2 separate regions of the Homo sapiens genome follow, and region 1 is linked to region 2. Evidence: promoter capture Hi-C in 16 types of primary human blood cells and fetal thymus (Javierre and others, 2016). All regions are on one chromosome and are shown on one strand. Each heading gives the region's core, a stretch centred on a gene start or on the middle of the fragment in contact. The rest is flanking DNA. Distances are from core to core; before and after follow the strand shown. Region 1 overlaps WRN (WRN RecQ like helicase). Region 2 holds the start of TTI2 (TELO2 interacting protein 2).

What was found. The method cuts DNA at HindIII sites, captures the fragments that hold promoters and counts their contacts. A CHiCAGO score of 5 or more calls a contact.
Region 1: a fragment that was not itself captured here is called in contact with the fragment with the promoter of TTI2 in region 2 in 1 of 17 cell types (non-activated CD4 T cells); the score reaches 5.2 in non-activated CD4 T cells.

The regions. Positions count from the first base shown.
Region 1 is chr8:31,147,761-31,153,203 of GRCh38, forward strand. WRN (WRN RecQ like helicase) reads left to right here. Exons shown (of 35, transcript NM_000553.6): 31 at 2,581-2,695. Among named protein-coding and RNA genes, the nearest start is that of WRN, 120 kb to the left of the region's middle. The HindIII fragment of the contact is 3,706 bases long and covers 1-3,573 here.
Region 2 is chr8:33,509,913-33,515,353 of GRCh38, forward strand. TTI2 (TELO2 interacting protein 2) reads right to left here and starts at 3,223. Exons shown (of 8, transcript NM_001102401.4): 1 at 3,170-3,223; 2 at 2,055-2,800; 3 at 1-20. The coding sequence starts at 2,701. SNORD13 (small nucleolar RNA, C/D box 13) reads left to right here and starts at 3,563; the gene lies at 3,563-3,666. RefSeq lists enhancers at 3,255-3,394, 4,915-5,204 and a silencer at 3,825-3,874. The HindIII fragment of the contact is 19,476 bases long and covers 1-5,441 here.

The DNA of each region.
Region 1 (5,443 bases), core at 471-2,970, 2.4 Mb before region 2:
TTCTTTATTTTTGATTATCTTACCATCACATTTGTAGTCAGAGGTTCCTAATGCTTAAAACCTCTGATCTGAATTTTCTCTCCTCCAATATAAAACCCCTTCGTCTTCCTCTTCTTCTTCTTCATTTTTTTTTTTTTTTTTGTCTGAAGACTTGTCTCACTGTGTTGCCCAGGCTGGAGTGTAGTGGTGCGATCACTGCTCACTGCAGCCTTGACCCCCTGGACTCAAGCTATCCTCGCACCTCAGCCTCCCGAGTAGCTGGGACTACAGAACATGCCACCATGCTCAGCTAATTTTTGTATTTTTTGTAGAGACAGGGTTTTGCCATATTGCCTAGGCTGGTCTTGAACTCCTAAGCTCAAGCAATCTTCCCGCCTCAGTCTCCAAAGTTCTGGCACTACAGGTGTGAGCCACTGTGCCTGGCCTCTTTTTCTCATTTAAATACTTTTCATACCTTTTGTAAAACGGGTTCCTTGTTGCCTGTCTATGCCTTCCTCCTCCTTCTTAATGACACCACGTTAATTCTGACTGTTTTCCCTTGGCCTGTTGCAGAAGCCTCTTAACTATTAACCCTTCATTCTCTCTCTCTGTTTCATCTGATATATGAGTACCAAACTAAATCTTCCTTTATCATATCTTACTTCTGCTTAAATGTTTTTTTTCTAGCTTAGAATTCAAGGCCCTCTATTTATGAACTTAAACTTACTTTTCCCTCTAAGTTACAGAATTTGAAATGGTTTATCTTACCTGGATTGTTTATCACTTGTTGAAGATCCATTTTCAACTTCCATATATTTATTTACAGTGTTGCTTCTCCTTGTAGTTTCCTTGATTCCTCAAAACTCCTTTTAAGAATTCTTGAAGATCTCGCTTTATTACTATTTCTCGCTTTATTACTGTAAAGACTATGAGAAGGTCTTTCATGATCTTATCAGCAAAGTAATTCCTCTCTCTTGAATTCATAGAGGACTTTCAGATGAATTCTAAAGATGCTTCTGTAGCACTTACCACACAATGCTATATTTTATTTTTTTGTAATTAGTGGTAAACAAGTATTATTATATCTTCTAGATTTTAAACTCCAAATAAAGATACTAGCTCCTTACCTTTTTGTGTGTCTCCTGTAGCACCTAGCACAATGCCTCATAAACAGGAGGTGATCATTAAATATTTAGAAGAAATTATTTCCCAAGAATAGTTGCTTGGTAATTGTATTTGTCTTTTACTTCCTTTTAAAAAATTGTTTCTGTCACTAAATTGCATCCAATAGATGTTACTTGAGTGCAGAATTTTCTAATGACATTACACAGTGCTACATCTGACACTAATTCTTTTGTTAAAAAATAAATATTCTGGCCGGGCGCTGTGGCTCACGCTTGTAAATCCCAGGACTTTGGGAGGCCGAGGCGGGCGGATCACGAGGTTAGGAGATCGAGGCCATCCTGGCTAACACGGTGAAACCCCGTTTCTACTAAAAATACAAAAAATTAGCCGGGCGTGGTGGCGGGTGCCTGTAGTCCCAGTTACTCTGGCGGCTGAGGCAGGAGAATGGCGTGAACCCGGGAGGCGGAGCTTGCAGTGAGCGGAGATCGCGCCACTGCACTCCAGCCTGGGTGACAGAGCGAGACTCCGTCTAAAAAAAAAATAAAAAATAAAAATAAATAAATATTCTAAGACCATACTTTAATAGAGGTGTTTTTTTTTTTTTTTTTTTTTTTTTTTTTTTTTTTTGGTGATAGAGTCTCACTCTGTCACCTAGGCTAGAGTGCAGTGGCGCGATCTCGGCTCACTGCAACCTCCGCCTCCTGGGTTCAAGCAATTCTCCTGCCTCAGCCTCCGGAATAGCTGGGACTACAGGTGCGCGCTGCCACCCCCGGCTAATTTTTTGTATTTTAGTAGAGATGAGGTTTCACTGTGTTGTCCAGGCTGGTGTTGAACTCCTGAGCTCAGGCAATCCACCCGCCCCGGCCTCCCAAATTGTTGGGATTACAGGCGTGAGCCACAGTGCCTGGCCCAGAGGAGATATTTAATGAAAAATAATAATCATTAGATAGGCAGATTTTTAGAAGGAGGGCATCGAATGGGTTCTTGGATATTGGACACAATAAGAAATATTGAGCTAAAAGTCTGAAGGAATTGGCAGATATACTGTTACAGGTAAACACTTTGTAGAAGAAAATAATGAATGAGACTTTCTTTTGAGATTTTCTTAGCCTCTTAGTTGTTCCCAGTTAAAGCCTCATATTTTTCCTTTTCATGACAATAAAAATAATAATAAAATCAGTAATAAAGTGAATATATGAGATGTTAACCTGTTCCTTTATGACAATGTCCTGTTTACCAATTAACAGTGTGTTTTTGTGGTGATGGGGGCAAGACAAATCTTTAAATGGTGGAAAGCAAAGAAAGAAATTATAAAACATGATTAGTTGTATTATACGTTGTTTTTGGTTGTTGGAAAAACTATACATTTATTGAGAGAATCATTAGGAAGCTGAACATCAGCTATATTGCTGGAGTGATACTGTTTCAGTGGTTTCTTGACCTTTTTGTTGTTGTTGTTGTTGTTGTTAAACACAGACCAACTACGGTTGAAAACGTAAAAAGGATTGATGGTGTTTCTGAAGGCAAAGCTGCCATGTTGGCCCCTCTGTTGGAAGTCATCAAACATTTCTGCCAAACAAATAGTGTTCAGGTAAAATACTGTGGTTTGCAGGAGCTCTTAGAGAATAAGCATTTTTTGTAACCATTTCAAAAGTACCCTCCAGAAGCAACATTTGCTCACTTTATTTGCATTTCCATACTGGACACTTAGAAAATGAATTAAAATTGTTTTTACAGTCAATCTGTTGTAAAAACATGTCAGTTATCTACTTTTAAAGATGATACTAAAAAGTAGTTGTCCAGGCTGCTGATGTCTTTCTATTTCATTGGGAGGTTTTGTTTTTAAATTGGAAACATTATTTTAGGTTGATAAATTATAATTTTACATTCAAATGTGGTAGTTGGAATTTAAAGCTGGAAAGTTATCCTTGCTATGAGTTGGTCAGGAGCTCAGCCACTTTCTTTTGGTTTAGCATCTTCTCTAATCTCCCTCCCCTTCCAGTAATGCTGTCTTTTGATAGTAAGTGGATTTCATATTATTCTCTTCAGTTTTAATAGTGTTTCCTTCATATCCTTTTATTATTGCTTGTTCTGCCCTAAGTGACCATTTCCAGAAATGTCATTTAGGATTTTCTCTAAACTCCACGTAGCAGACTCTATAATGCATACTCTGCAGAAGGTGAGGCAGTGGGAGGTAGAGGGGAGACTACTAGACTAGGAGTCACGGAATCAGGACTTTAGTTCTTCCTTACAGTTGTTCACCTGGTGAACCTGCACATGTCCTTTAATTTCCTTGGGTCTCCATTTCCTCAGCTATACAATGGAAATGACACTTCCTCCCCCACATCCAGGAAACAACAGATGACATTAGAAAATAGAAGACATGGGATAAGTATAAAATGTTGAAAGAGTTAAACACATTCAAGGCAATATTAAGGGATTATTTTTTACTTCCAAGAAGCTCCTGGAAGCTTTGGGCAGGCACAGTTGGATCCTACTTTAGAAAAATCTTTCTCTAACTATAAGTAGAAAACCCTTCTGCTTTTTGAATGTAGCATTTCCCTCTTTTGATATAGAGTATCTTTGGCAACTTTGAATTTTCTTTTTCATACTCTTATATAAGACATCATGTGAAAATTCTTATTTCTTACTGAGTTTTTGGAAATGAAATTATAATGTCTTAATAGTTTGAGAAAGAATATCATACCTACCAGCGGTAATTGAGTAAGTTCCCTCTCTTTGGACACTTGAAAGTAGTATCTTCTTTCATGAATTAGTGATATTATTTAATAATGAATGAGTGATCTCTCCTAACTCCCCTTCAGAAGAGGAAAATGAAGTAGGGGAAAAGGTAAATTCCCCAAGGGATAGGTATGAAACCTTTATGAACCTTCTGGATAGAGAAGATGACTGCTGATTTCTGTGATTAGAAATTATACTTGGGTTATTCTGCAAATTGAAATGAATTATTTAAAAAAAAACAACTTTAATGTTTATTAAGCAAGTTTTGTTATTCATGAGTTTCATTAGCCTTTTATTTTTTTTTTAAATTTTGAAGTAAAATTTCTTGCTGTCACAATACACATTAAAAATTACAAATATGACACATATTAAACACATTAAGATGGCCGAATAGGAAAAATATGCTAAAATATTTTTATATAAATACATTTTTTGAGAATTTTGAGAATTTCTGGAACAAAGTAATGATATAATCCATAAATGTACAATTAAAGAGTTTAAGGATATCCAAAATACTTGGCAAAGTAATCTGAAATAATACTCTTAGGAAGGTAGGGCAAGAATGTGATTCTAGTAAGCAAAAATGTGATCAAATCGTATTCTAGTCCCAGCTACTCGGGAGGCTGAGGCAGGAGAATGGCGTGAACCTGGGAGGCGGAGCTTGGAGTAAGCCGAGATCGTGCCACTGCACTCCAGCCTGGGCGACAGAGCGAGACTCCATCTCAAAAAAAAAAAAAGACTATATGAACATGTATGGCATAAATATGTACAAATATTATTTATTTTAAAAAAATTCAGGGGTAGGGACAGGGTAGTTAGAAAATATCTAAGGATGTTCATGAAATAATACTGGCTATGAATGACAGTTGATGAAACCGGGTGGTGCCCATCTTATTCCCTCGACTCGTGTATATGTTTGATATATCCCACAATAAACCTTAAAAAAAAAAAGATGAGTGGTCAATTATAGGAAGATATAAATAGAAAAGGCAATAAGGACAAAAGTTGGCAAAGCTTACCTAAGCACTCTTCAGATAAAAAGACATTTTTGCTAACTAGATTTGAATATTATAGTTTAATTGTCAAGGAAAATGCCTCAACTTAATCTTTGTTAAGAGACTACTTAAGGCACTATCAGAAGTTCCCTCATGGCAAGGTGCAATCCCTCATGCCTGTAATCCCAGCACTTTGGGAGGCCAAGGCAGGCAGGTTACCTGAGGCCAGGAGTTAGAAAACAACCTGGGAAACATAGTGAGACCCGACCTCTACAAAAACAATTTCTTAAAATTAGCCAGGCATGGTGGTGCTAGCCTGTAATCCCAGCTATTTAGGATGCTTAGGCAGGAGGATTGCTTGAGCCCGGGGATTTGAGGCTGCAGTGAGCCATCATTGTGCCACAATACTCCAGCCTGAGTGATAGAAAAAAAAAAAAAAAGTGTCTTTGTTATATTCCAAACTTGTTCTCAACTTTCAGGTGAGCTGGCTTCCTGTATAACTCTTGTATAGGACAGAACATACTGGTTGGGGCAAGTGAAACTGTCTAGTTGTATGCCTCATAAATTAATGAATTTCCTTTCTAATATATACACTGATATTT
Region 2 (5,441 bases), core at 1,973-4,472:
GGTTATTCTTCCAGGATTCCCTAAGTGAATACATAGAATTACATTAAGTGACATGGTGATAAGTAGCAAAAAAAAAAAAAAAAAAAACTACTTCAAGCTAAACAGAGTATTTTCATGTCTTTGAAAAAAAAAATACATCGCACATAAGATAACTCTTGATTCTATATCATACATTCTAAGATCTGGATTAAAATAACTTCCATAACTTACACCAAATAATCATCCAGGGCTTTGGGTCTACAGCCTATCCAATGAGAAGGAGTCAATTATAACCAGAGCTACATAAAGGACTTATGGTGATGGATGGTGAAGGTATGTTGAGAAGGGAGGGAGGAGTAAAGGAAATGGATTAGTAGTATTACACTAAGGAAACAAATGAATCAACACTTGAACACCTGTTAATCGCTAATAAAGTGAGTGTACACACGACTTAACTAATTCTCAAAATAATTACTGTGTAATAGGTACATTATATTTATTTTGAAATAGAGTCTCACTCTATTGCCCAGGCTGGAGTGCAGTGGCACCATCTGGGTTCACTGCAACCTCCGCCTCCCAGGCTCAAGCGATTCTCCTGCTTCAGCCTCCCGAGTAGATGGGATTACACACTTGCACCACCATACCCGGATAATTTTTATATTTGTAGTAGAGACGGGGTTTCACCATGTTGCCCAGGCTGGTCCTGAATTCCTGGCCTCAAGTGATCTGACAGCCTTGGCCTCCCAAAGTACTGGGATTACAGGTGTCAGCCACCACACTCCGCCAAGTATATTATCTTTATATTAGAAACAAACAGATTCAGATAACTGTCTAATCTGGTCCTACTCAGAGCAACAAATAGAAGCACGAAACTCAAAATCAAGCCTTTTAATTCCGTGTTCCTGGTAAAATGACAGTTACAGATACTTTTTCTCTCATTACTCCAGTGCTAACAAAGTAGCAAGTGGAAACTCATTGAAAGAACTTCAGCTAACAGTAATCTAAAGGTGCTTTTCACTTTTTATCCTAAACATGGCTTTCTTAGCTGATAGTCATCCTTCTCTAACAAGCAGTAATGAGATTCAAGATCCCCAAGTCTAAATTCAAACCATAAGTTTAAATCCTCTCTAAATCCCCCATCCAAATTCTAGTAATTTGTAATTTTTTTTGAGACGATGTCTTGCTCTGTTGCCCAGATTGGAGTGCAGTGGCCCGATCTCAGCTCACTGCAATCTCTGCCTCCTGGTTTCAAGCGATTCTACTGCCTCAGCCTCCCGAGTAGTTTGGATTACAGGCGTCCACCACCATGCCCAGCTAATTTTTGTATTTTTAGTAGAGATGGGGTTTCACAATGTTGGCCAGGCTGGTCTCGAACTCCTGACCTTAAGTGATCCACCCGCCTCGGCCTCCCAAAGTGCTGGGACTACAGGAGTGAGCCACCTCGCCCGGCCACATTTTGTAATTATTAACTCCAAGTAAGTGGGACAGAATTTCCAATTTTCCTAGGCAGTCGTCCTAAGGGCTGGAAAGAGCATTGGACAACTGAGCCCGAACATCTCAGTTATGACCTCCAATTTGCCACTATCCAGTTATGTCATTTATAGCAAATCACAACGTTTCTGGGCCTTAAGAGATCCGTGGTTACAGCACCCTTATTTTACTGCTGAAGAAATTGAGCTTCCTTTGAGGTATAACGCTATAAAAAATTAAGCTAGGGCAGGCGCAGTGGCTCACGCCTGTAATCCCAGCATTTTGGGAGCCCGAGGCGGGTGGATCACTTGAGGTCAAGAGTTCAAGACCAGCCTGGCCAACATGGTGAAACCCCGTCTCTACTAAAAATACAAAAAATCAGCCAGGCGTGGTGACGGGCAACTGTAATCCCAGCTACTCCGAAGGCTGACACAGGAGAATCGCTTGAACCCAGGAGGCGGAGGTTGCAGTGAGCTGAGATCGCAACATTGCACTCCACCCTGGGCAACAAGAGTGAAACTCTGTCTCGAAAATAAATAAATAATAAAAAATAAAAATAAAAAACTGTGAGGCTCAAGTCGGTGGCAAAGGGCAGGAGTACTCACTTATACAAGTCGGGTTTGAGAAGCCCTAGTATCACCGAAAGTCTCCCTTTCTCATCTTCATTTTCTCCATGTAGGAATCCTGCCACAGAACCGCATTCAGTAACTTGAAGCAGTGAGGTGAGCACCTCCCTAGCAACTTCCCGAGATCTCGGAGTGGTCCATGGTTGCTCCAAGCTGTGTGTGATGGCAAAAATATAAACGGGTCCTGCCAAGTGATGCAGGCCCGTCTGCCATGCAGGGCCGACCAGGGAATTCTTAGCAGTCTCAACTTTCCCTAACAGTTTAAGAAACAGTAACCCAACTTGGGCTGCTTTCTCGGCCGCTTCGGAGTGCCCATCACCTCCACCTTCCTCCTCCTTGGAGGGGGCTGCATACTTCTCCAGGGCTTTTGCTACCTGCCCCAGTGTCTCCGGCATTCCGCGGAGCCGTGCACCAGTCCCCTCAAATAACCTATCAAATTCTGTGGCTTCTATTAGATCACCGAGGTCTTTAAGAACTGCATCTTTTACATTGCCTCGTCGTGCCTCCGGGCGGGCAAGACAGTGTAAAATCTTGGAGAAGGCCTGTCCAAAGGCGGAGTGAGACAACTCCTCGGACAAATTAGAGTCTTCCTGCGATGGGGCTTCCAGAGCGCTGTCAAGCTCCATTCCTGACTGCAGCACCAGAAGGCTGGTCTCTCCCACAGAACGAGGATGGAGGCGGGGAGGGATCCGTTGAAGAGGGAAGGAGCGATCACCCAAAGAGAACTAAAATCAAATAAAATAAAACAGAGAGATGTCTTGGAGGAGGGGGCGAGTCTGACCGGGATAAGAATAAAGAGAAAGGGTGAACCCGGGAGGCGGAGTTTGCAGTGAGCCGAGATCGCGCCACTGCACTCCAGCCTGGGCGACAGAGTGAGACTCCGTCTCAGTAAAAAAAAAAAAAAAAAAAAGAATAAAGAGGAAAGGACGCAAGAAAGGGAAAGGGGACTCTCAGGGAGTAAAAGAGTCTTACACTTTTAACAGTGACGTTAAAAGACTACTGTTGCCTTTCTGAAGACTAAAAAGAAAAAAAACTTAAAAATTTAAAGAAATAAACTTCTGAGCCATGTCACCAACTTAACCACCCCCAGGTACCTGCAACGGCTCGCGCCCGCCGGTGTCTAACAGGATCCGGACCTAGCTCATATTGCTGCCGCAAAACGCAAGGCTAGCTTCCGCCAGTACTGCCGCAACACCTTCTTATTTCACGACGTATGGTCGTAAAGCAATAAAGATCCAGGCTCGGGAAAATGACGGAGAGGTGGAACTATAGAGAATAAATTTGCATATATAATAATCCGCTCGCTAATTGTGTTTCTGTTTTCCTTTGCTAAGGTAGAAACAAAAGAATAATCACAGAATCTCAGTGGGACTTTGAAAATATCCAGGATTTTATACGTGAAGAATGGATGTATCGCATTACGGTAGTCACCCTATGTGTAAATTAGTGGCACATACTTGGCACTCCTTAATGTCAACTATAAGATGATCCTTTTGTAGTTCATGAGCGTGATGATTGGGTGTTCATACGCTTGTGTGAGATGTGCCACCCTTGAACCTTGTTACGACGTGGGCACATTACCCGTCTGACCTGAACTTCAAGGATCGATTTAACACTTGTATTTGTGGGCTTGTTACTTATGATAACAGGTGGCCTAGTTTCATGGCTTTGTGTTTACCGTTTTCGGGTGCCCTTTTTTCTGGCTGTATGCTACACGCACGGGTGCTTTTCCGTTGTCCAACTGTGTAATGTGTTTTTGTGTTTGTTCTTTTGTGAGTCGGAGTCTCGCGTTGTCGCCAGGCTGGAGTTGCAGTGTTGCGATCTCGGCTCACTGCAACCCCCACCTCCGGTTTTCGAGAGATTGTCCTACCTCAGCCTCCCGAGTAGCTGGGACTATAGGCGCGCGCCACCACGCCCAGCTAATTTTTGTATAAATATTGGCAAGGATGGTCTCGATCTCTTGACCTCGTGATGCGCCCGCCTCGGCCTCCCAAAGGGCTGGGATTACAGGCGTGAGCCACCGCGCCTGGCCAATGCAGAGCTTTTTAATGGCTTTAATTTTTTAGGTTTGGGAGATACCTGCGCAGGTTTGTTACCTGGATATGTTGTGGGATGCTGGGATTTGGAGTGCAGCTTAGCCCGTTTTCATTGCCCCCTCTAGTAGACCACAGTGTCTGTTGTTGCCACTTTTATGTCCACGTGTTCCTAATGTTTAGCTCCCACTTATGAATGAGAGCATGCGGTATTTGGTTTTCTGTTCAATGCAATACTTTAGCTGGTTTCTGGAGCTAGCGTTTTAAAGCCTGTAGCCACAAGCGTTTGAAAATTCAAATTCTAGCGTCAAGGTAGAAGCCCCCAGCTGGCGTCTGGGGCAGCCCTGAGGGAGGTGGGTCGTCGGGTTGGCGGATCCGGCTTGGGCCCGCCCCGCCAGTGTCGGCGCCGGGTGCGCAGGGACAGCAGAGCGCTGTCTTGGGCATGGGTCGCAGGCGGCGCCCGGAACGGGCCAGGGGAGCTGGAGGCTGCAGACTCGGGCTCGGCGGGTGTAGGAACCAGTGGTGTTTGCTTGGGTTTTGAGAAGGCGCGAGAAGGGTCGCGCCTGTGCGACCGCCCTGTGTTGGGTCCCCCACGCCGCGTCGGCATTGCTTGTTCCCTCTTCCTGCGCTTTCCTGGAGGGTAGAATTGCGTCCGATTGGCCTTCAGTTCCCGAGGAGCTGCTTCCATTTAGGACCTTGTGACTCTCATAGCTTCCACGGTTTCGCAGGAGCCCGAGGAGGCAAACTTCATTTGTGCCACTGCACAGGCGGGAGCTTCGGACCCTGGGAGGGGTGGCGCGAGAGAGACGTGTCGCCAGCTGCTCGGAGAGGGACTCTTATTCAGCCTCTAAGGCGTCAATTGCGCCTCCAGGGTTCCAGGAGTCCAGAGAAAGCCCTTCGGGGTCTTCTGACCTGGGGTAGGGTGAGGGGCGTGTGTGCGCGCAGGGGCGAGGGAGGGGTGACGTGTCAGGTGTCCTTTGTCCTCGCGAGGAGGTGGTTATGGGGTAGAGGGACATACAGTATTTTCGTCCCACCTTGGGGAGCGCACCAGCTTCTTGGTGCACTACTTGCAACTGTCCCATCTGCGGTGTCTTGCTGCCTACTCGCCTGCCCTTCTTTCCATTTTGCTGTCTGACCTTGGGCAAAAGTTCGGTAGCCTCTCTGTGCCTTCATTTCTTTTTATTTTTTATTTAATTAAAAAATATTTTTTTAGAGACAGGGTCTTGCTCCGTGGCCCAGGCAGGAGTGCAGTGGCGTCATCGTATCTCACTGCAGCTTCAAACTCCTGGGTTCAAGCGATCCTCCCGCCTCAGTCTCCCAGTAACTGGGACCA